Regions from separate parts of the Homo sapiens genome. Here region 1 is linked to region 2. Evidence: promoter capture Hi-C in human tissues and cell types (Jung and others, 2019). All regions are on one chromosome and are shown on one strand. Each heading gives the region's core, a stretch centred on a gene start or on the middle of the fragment in contact. The rest is flanking DNA. Distances are from core to core; before and after follow the strand shown. Region 1 overlaps RANBP10 (RAN binding protein 10). Region 2 holds the start of CTCF (CCCTC-binding factor).

The links. Contacts are between HindIII fragments. The study calls those that stand out against the background at their distance.
Region 1: a fragment that was not itself captured here is called in contact with the fragment with the promoter of CTCF in region 2 in 1 of the 25 tissues and cell types used here (pancreas).

What each region holds. Positions count from the first base shown.
Region 1 is chr16:67,764,351-67,768,419 of GRCh38, reverse strand. The region is part of intron 3 of RANBP10 (RAN binding protein 10); the gene reads left to right. Among named protein-coding and RNA genes, the nearest start is that of RANBP10, 40 kb to the left of the region's middle. The HindIII fragment of the contact is 7,139 bases long and covers 1-4,069 here.
Region 2 is chr16:67,561,098-67,564,807 of GRCh38, reverse strand. CTCF (CCCTC-binding factor) reads right to left here and starts at 2,282. Exons shown (of 12, transcript NM_006565.4): 1 at 2,084-2,282. CTCF-DT (CTCF divergent transcript) reads left to right here and starts at 2,499. Exons shown (of 1, transcript NR_158165.1): 1 at 2,499-3,397. LOC124903703 (a long non-coding RNA gene) reads left to right here and starts at 1,358. Exons shown (of 2, transcript XR_007065094.1): 1 at 1,358-1,513. RefSeq lists silencers at 1,211-1,310, 1,831-2,840 and enhancers at 1,064-1,926, 3,071-3,120, 3,141-3,190. The HindIII fragment of the contact is 9,573 bases long and covers 1-3,710 here.

The sequences.
Region 1 (4,069 bases), core at 771-3,270, 200 kb before region 2:
CCTCCCCAGTAGTTGGGATTACAGGCGCACACCACCACGCCTGGCTAATTTTTTGTATTTTTAGTAGAGATGGGGTTTCGCCATGTTGCCCAGGCTGGTCTTGAACTCCTGAGCTCAGTCAGTCTGCCTGCCTCAGCCTCCCAAAGTAGTAAGATTACAACGTGAGGCACCACGCCCGGCCGTTTTTGTATTTTTTGTAGAGACAGGGTTTTGCCATGTTGCCCAGGCTAGTCTTGAAGTGAGCTCAAGCAGTCCACTCATCTCGGCCTCCCAAAGTGCTGGGATTACAAGTATGAGTCATCATGCCTAGCCGTATGTTCTTTTTTCTTTAATAAAAACCTTTTTTTTTTTTTTTGAGACAAGGTCTTGCCCTGTTGCCCAGGCTGGGGTTCAGTGACATGATATGGTTCACTGCAACTTTGACCTCCCAGGCTTAAGTGATCCTCTCACCTTAGTCTCCTGAGTAGCTGGGACTACAGGTGCACACCACCATGCCTGGTTAATTTTTAAAATTTTCTTGTAGAGGCAGGGCGCGGTGGCTCATGCCTGTAATCCCATCACTTTGGGAGGCCAAGGCGGGTGGATCACAAGGTCAGGAGATCAAGACCATCCTGGCTAACACGGTGAAATCCCATCTCTACTAAAAATACAAAAAATTAGCCGGGCGCGGTGGTGGGCGCCTGTACTCCCAGCTACTCGAGAGGCTGAGGCAGGAGAATGGCGTGAACCTGGGAGACAGAGCTTGCAGTGAGCTGAGGTAGCGCCCTAGCACTCCAGCCTGGGTGAAAGAGCGAGACGCCGTCTCAAAAAAAAAAAAAATTGTAGAGACAAGGTCTCCCTGTGTTGCCCAGGCAGGTCTCTAACTCCTGGGCTCAAGCAATCCTCTCATCTAGGCCTCCTAAAGTACTGGGATTATAGGCGCGAGTTACAGTGCCTGGCTTTTTTTTTTTTTTTTTTTTTTTTTTGAAACAGGGTCTCGCTGTTGCCCAGCTTGGAGTATAGTGGAGTGGTCACGGCTCACTGCAGCCCTGAATTCATAGGCTCAAATGATCTTCCTGCCTCAGCCTCCCAAGTAGCTGGGACTACAGGTGTATACCACCATGCCTGCCTAGTAAAAACTGTTTTTGTGTCACCCATTGAGTTTGAGATCCATGGAGTGGAGTAGACGAGGTGAGAGGTGTTCAGAGTCTGCTGGGCTGATCTGAGTCTCTTTGAGATGGGACCATATGGAGCCAGCCTAGTCTGTTTCTCTTTTTCACAATATGAGACTTAACCTCTCTGGGCTGGTCTGAAGCCAGCTACTGGTCATGTCCTTTGACATTGCTAATACAAAGCTGTAGGAAAATCTATTTTCCTCATGGGTGCACTTCTCTTTGGCAAGGGAAAGGGGCCTAACTGTTCAGTGGATATTGCACTTGTCTTTGTTTCACTCTGCCTGCCAACTCCTCAGGGTTTTCCTTCCTGCCATATCTGATCATCTCCCTGATTGTCTTTAAGGTGGAAAGGAGGAATCAGATTGCATCTAGATACCACTTCTCCCTGGGAAGGATGGATGCCCCTGGCTTTTCCAGAATACAGGGCTAGCTGAATGTCCGGTCAGATCCAGTACAGGGCAGGTGGGAGGATGGAGTAAAGGGCACCCCTCTCAGGGGTGATAGTGGGCCTTTTTGTTAGTTTGTGTTCCTGTCAAGGAATACCTGAGGCTGGATCATTTATAAAGAAAAGAGTTTTATTTGGCTCATGATTCAGGGCTGTACATGCCTAGCTCCAGCATCTGCTTCTGGTGAGGGCCTATGGAAGCTTAAAATTATGGTGGAATGGAAGGGGAGCTGGTATATCACATGGCTAGAGAGAGCAGTGTGGGGGCGGGGGGTACCAGACTCCTTTTCAAACAACCAGATCTCATGTGAACTAATTACCGCTGGGAGGGCACCAAGCCATTCATGAGGAATGCTAGTGTAACCCAAACACCTCCCACCCACCAGGCTCCATTCCATCATTGAGAATCACATTTCAACAGGAGATTTGGAGGGGACAAACATCCAAACTGTATCAGCTTGCCGTTATTCATTGCAGTACTGGGTTTTGAAGTCGGAATCCCTTTTGGTGCTTTCCAGTTTCTGGGATCACTTTTTTATTTCTGGTGATGAGCATACATTTTGCAAAACCGAAAGCATCATCATTCATAAACAGAGATGAAGGTCCTGGTATTTTGGTGGGGAGGTGGGATGGAAGACGACAGCAGCTAAAGCCTTTCTGCCAGCCGCTGCTGATTTCCAAGAGGCTCTTCGTTGAGATGCAGGTCAATTGGATGGTTCAGATGTGTGGTTGGTAGGAGGCAGTAGTGGTGGTGGCCTAGGCTGGGTCCAGATTTTGAGACTTTGGTGTTTGTTTATTTATTTATTTATCTGAGACAGGGTCTTACTCTGTCTCCCAGACTAGTGCAGTGGCACAGTCACAGCTCACTGCAGCCTCAACCTCCTGGGCCGAGTGCTCCTTCCACCTCAGCCTCCCAAGTAGCTGGTACTACAGGCACATGCCACCATGTCTGACTTATTTATTTATTTATTATAATTTATTTATTTAGATGGAGTCTTGCTGTGTTCCCCAGGCTGGAATGCAGTGGCGCGATCTCGGCTCACTGCAAGCTCCGCCTCCTGGGTTCACGCCATTCTCCTGCCTCAGCCTCTCGAGTAGCTGAGACTACAGGCGCCCACCACCACACCTGGCTACTTTTTTGTATTTTTAGTAGAGATGGGGTCTCACCGTGTTAGCCAGGATGGTCTCGATCTCCTGACCTCGTGATCCGCCCACCTCAGCCTCTCAAAGTGCTGGGACTACAGGCGTGAGCCACTGCACCCAGCCCCGACTAATTTATTTATTTATTTTTTTGAGATGGAGTTTTGCTCTTGTTGCCCAAGCTGGAGTGCAATGGCACAATCTCGGCTCATCGGCAACCTTCGCCTCCCGGGTTCAAGCGATTCTCCTGCCTCAGCCTCCCGAGTGGCTGGGATTACAAGCACGCACCACCACGCCCAGCTAATTTTGTATTTTTAGTAAAGACAGGGTTTCTCCATGTTGGTCAGGCTGGTCTCGAACTCCCAGCCTCAGGTGATTCACCTGCCTTGGCCTCCTAAAGTGCTGGGATTACAGGTGTGAGCTACTGCACCTGGCTAATTTATTTTTTAATGTTTTTTTTTTTTTTTTTTTTTTTTTTTTTGAGATGGAGTCTTGCTCTGTCACCCAGGTTGGAGTGCAGTGGTGCAATCTTGGCTCAGTGCAACCTCCGCCTCCTGGGCAAGTGATTCTCCTGCCTCAGCCTCCCAAAGTGCTGGGTTTACAGGCATGAGCCACTATGCCCATCTAAGTTTGCTGTTTTGACCGGTACTTACACATCTTTGTGCAAAGTTCTTGTTTTTGCTTCTCGTACTATTTATGAGGAGTGTTAATGTTTTAATATAGTTAAGATGTTCAAGTTTATAGCCGTTACATTTTATTGGACTAGACTGTTTTTGGATTTCATTAGCAACATGCCTGTTTCTTTGATGGCCTTATCAATCAGACTTTTATTAAATGTTCCAAAATGTTCTACTGGCATTTCAGATTGATAATGTGTTGCATAAAATCTATGGATTAGTATGGGAAACCTCAATCTTACTGAAAATTTAGTCTTCCGAACCAGAAATGACATATGTCTGTTTATTTTTACATTGCTTTATTTAATTTATAGACAGGATCTCACTCTGTCCCCCATGCTGGGGTACAGTGGCACGATCATAGCTCACTGTGACAGGATTGACAAGCCCTATGGGAGGTGATTCAGCTGGACTTGGTGTCTTCACAGTAGATTATTAGACTGCAAGCTACGAGGAGTGTGCCTCTAGAGTGTTCCTGATAATTTGTTTTAAGAATGCTTTTATTAATAAAATGGCCTGGCAATGGCCATTTTATTACTATTTTTTTCTCTGTTCTGGCTTCTCGGTACAATGGCCATTTTAGATACTGAGTCTCAGTGTTGTTAGGAGCAAGTGGGCAGGATGTGAGTTAAGCGGCCCTTATCTGAGTCAGC
Region 2 (3,710 bases), core at 1,033-3,532:
CCAAACCAAGAAGCAAAATATGGTCTATGGAGCACAGTACTAACCCGGGAAAACAAGCTTTACTCCTGGCTCGATTATACACCTGCTGTATTTTAATTTTTAACTCAATGTTGAGCTTATTTAAATAAATAAAACATGCTACTTAACCACAATTTCAAAAGGAAAACAAAGTCACAAAAGAATGCAATAAATTACACAATTGGACTAACATATTAGATAATTAAAGGTGATTCTATTCCCAAGTCTAACTATCAATCAACGCTACTGCATTTAGTTACTCTATGCAATTTTATTGAGGAAGAGGGGTGGCAGGAATATTTTGCAGGGTTCCAAAAGGAGACATAGAAAGCGTGCCTACGAAGAGGACTGCAGTGAGGAGCTACACATTGAGATTACATACAGTGGACTGGACAACTTTGGTTAGGACCAGGCTGTTTAATTTCTTCATAAACTTAACATAGCTTCCTTCCTAAAAACAGGTTAATCCAGACTTTCTTCTCTCCAAAACAACCCGAACTGATACATTAACTGCTGCAATGAACTATATTAAGGCACTAGAATATTTACGGAAAAGCAAAAGACTCCCGCAATTCAACGGGATGCTTTTTAGTGAAGAAAGAAAACTTAAGGACCGAATAAATTTAAATATATGCCTTGTTTAACTTCCTTTCCCACCTATGAGGACTTGGTTTTTAACTTTCCTAGTTGATCGAAACTCAAAGTATGAAGACTACGTATGCGAATGTTTACTTAACGCTGAACTCGGGGCTACAGGAAGTCTCCTACTAAACAGTAGTTACATTAGGCGTAGATATTTATAAACCATCTGCAGCAAGTGACCCAGGATTCAATTACAACATCAACCCTCATATTTCATCGCATGGGCAAATTACCAGTCGAGTCAAGAATAAACTCATTCTGCCCTACTGGCGCTCTAGATCGAGTTGCACAATCCTGGGGCAGAACCGCCTTCACCTAGCCCTAGAGCATCAGGTACTAAGTTAGTGTGAGGACATTTTAAAGCGGGAGGGAAACTCAAGGGACTTAGCCCATACTCCCAAATTCAGAAATTTGTCACGTCACTTGAGATCAGAATGAAATTTAAGTTTCAGTCCCTTTGAGATCTCTGAGCGCACAAAGTCAGGCTGCTATCACTCGGCTGGGGAGTCCGAACCCGGCTGGATAAAAACTACTTGGTGCGGAACTCGCATCTTTTCCGCCCACCGTGGGGGGGCCGCACCGGTCGGGTCCGGCCAGGAACCCGGGCGCGAGTTTGGGGGCGCAGCGGGGGCGGCGAGCGCGCGTCCCCCCGCCCGCTCAGGCAGCGTAGAGGTGCGAGCAGCTCAGCCAGCCTTGCAGAGGGAGCTCTCGGCAGCTCTGGGGTCCCTCTGCTCGCAGCCGCTGCAGCGCCGCCTGCGCCACTCGGCGGAGACGGAGACCAGCGGCGGCGACGCGCGGACTGGGAGCGACCGCCGAGCAGCCAAGCAGCTGGGAAGGCACGCAGGCCGGCAGGGTAGGTTCCGGGGACGGGGCTGGCTGGAGGAGGGGCAGCCCGAGACGCGACGGCCAGGGCCCGACACCCATACGGCACCGGGACCTGGCTTAGCGCGCGGCGGCAGTCGGTCCGAACCCTTAAGCTAGGCGGGCGCCGAAGCCGGGACGCGGAGATAGTGTCTCAGCTGGGGCCACCCGCCGCGGGAGGGGCGGAGGACACAGGACAGAGGGCGGGCCGCGGCCGGGCGATCGGCCGGCCAAGAACCGGCCTCGAGGGCAGACAAAGGAAGGAAAATGGAGTCGCCGGGCGCGCGGGCCTCTGCCTCTGCCGCCGCCCGAGGCCTAGCGCGCTGCCAGGAGGGAGGCCTAGCGGGCGGGCGGGCGGGCGGGCGTGGGGGTGGGGGGGGCGGCCGGGCCACGGCGGCGACGGGCAATGGCGGCGGCCGCGCCGCAGCAGGGACGGTAGAGGGAGACAAACACCCCCCGGCGGCGGCGCTGGCGCCGGGCTGCAGCCAGCGCCGACCGGAGCGGCCCCATCGTGACACCTAGAGGCGGCCCGCGAAACCTCCTCCACCCCGGGCCCCCTTACCTCCGCGCCACACCCCCCGCGGCGCCCGCTCCGCCGCCGCTCCACGGCTCCGGCCACCCGGCGTCTCCGGCGAGCTCCGCGCGTCCGCACCGGCCACCGCCGCCGCCGCTGCCGCCAAAGAAGCAGCTCCGCGCACGGTTTAATCGCTCCACAGGCTCAGACACAAAATGGCGGCGGCGCGGTGCAGTGCGCCTGCGTCGGCGCTGCCGGGGCCGCGGGTGCTGATAAGGGAAGGGACGGGTGGGGGGACCGGCCGGGCGGCGAGTAGAGGGCGGGGGAGGAAAGGTGAGGGGAGGGGTTGGCGCAGGGCAGCATGGGAGGCGGCCCCGGGCGCCAACTTTCAAAAGCGGGCGCGATGGCGTCACGGGACGCGCCGCGAGTCGCGTCGTCACGCCGCACGCGCCCTCGCCGGGTCGCTCGTGGGCTCTGCCGGCGCCGCGGCGTCCTGGCTCCCGCTGGGTGGGGCTTCCTGGGCGGAGGCCGCCGCCCCTGGGCGGTGCCGGATCCAGTCCGCTTGACCTTATTCCCTAGCTGCTGTCTCCGGCCCCCTGAACCCGTACAGGGTTGGGGAAGTGGGGGTGGCTGGAGGAAGCGCGCGCGGGGCAAGCCAGTGGGGCTGAGGAGGCTCCCGGGCCCGGCCCCGCCCAGTCTCCGCCCCAGCCAGGCCCGACCCGCCCTCCGAATGTCTTACAGCTGCCCGCCCCAGAGTAAGGCCCGGTCGGTTCCCGCGCGCTCCCAGCTCCGTGCCCGCGAGCGACGACTGGAAGGGCTGTCCTTGCTCAGCGGCTTTTGGTGATCTCTCCGCCCTAGAAGAGGGCCACCTAAAAGCGGGTGCGAGAGGAGAGTGGGAGGGCCTCCTCTTGGTGTCCCCAGGCCACCTCAGCCCGGAGAGGTGGCGGAAAACCAGACTTGATGCTTTAACACGTTCATAGCAATCGCTTTTTACTGAAAGGAGTTTCTGTATTTAGCGCTGTGTAATTCTGTGGAAACGTGCATTTCTTGTCTTTGCGGGAGAGCTGTTCTCTGTGGGCGGAGACCTTCAGTCCCACCCCTCCCCAGGAGGCGCCTGCGGACCCTTCCCAACCTGCAGTCAAGTTGACCAAGAACTGACTGCAAGGTGCTGGTGGCTCTGGGATGAGAGCCTTTTGGTACTTACAGGGAATATGACTCTTCCCTTAGATATCAAATGGACCCAATATCTAGGGAGCAGCTTCTTCTCCATCCATCTGACCGTTCCGTTGTGAGAATGCTGGCCCAATAACATACTCTTTTTTTTTCCCCTAAAGGAATAAAAAAATCTGTATTTTTAAGATGTCAAATCTCCAGAGTTTTTAGATGTTAGCAACTGAATCAGATGTTTTTAAACTTCATGAGCTGATTAAACCACACAGATGAGCTGTCAGTTTACGACCCCTGGCTTGGCTTGGAGGAAAGAGTGAAGAGAAATTCCATGGCCAAATCCTGGGGCACTCCAATATTGGGAGGGTAATGGAGAAGGAGTCTGAAAGGCAGCATCTAGGAAGTCATGAAAGCTAGCGCTGAGTTGTGGAATCCCTGGGCAGAGAAGGTTTCAGGTAGGAGGCATCAGCTGAGCGGTGTGATAAACTTGGGCCAGAGATGTGGCTAT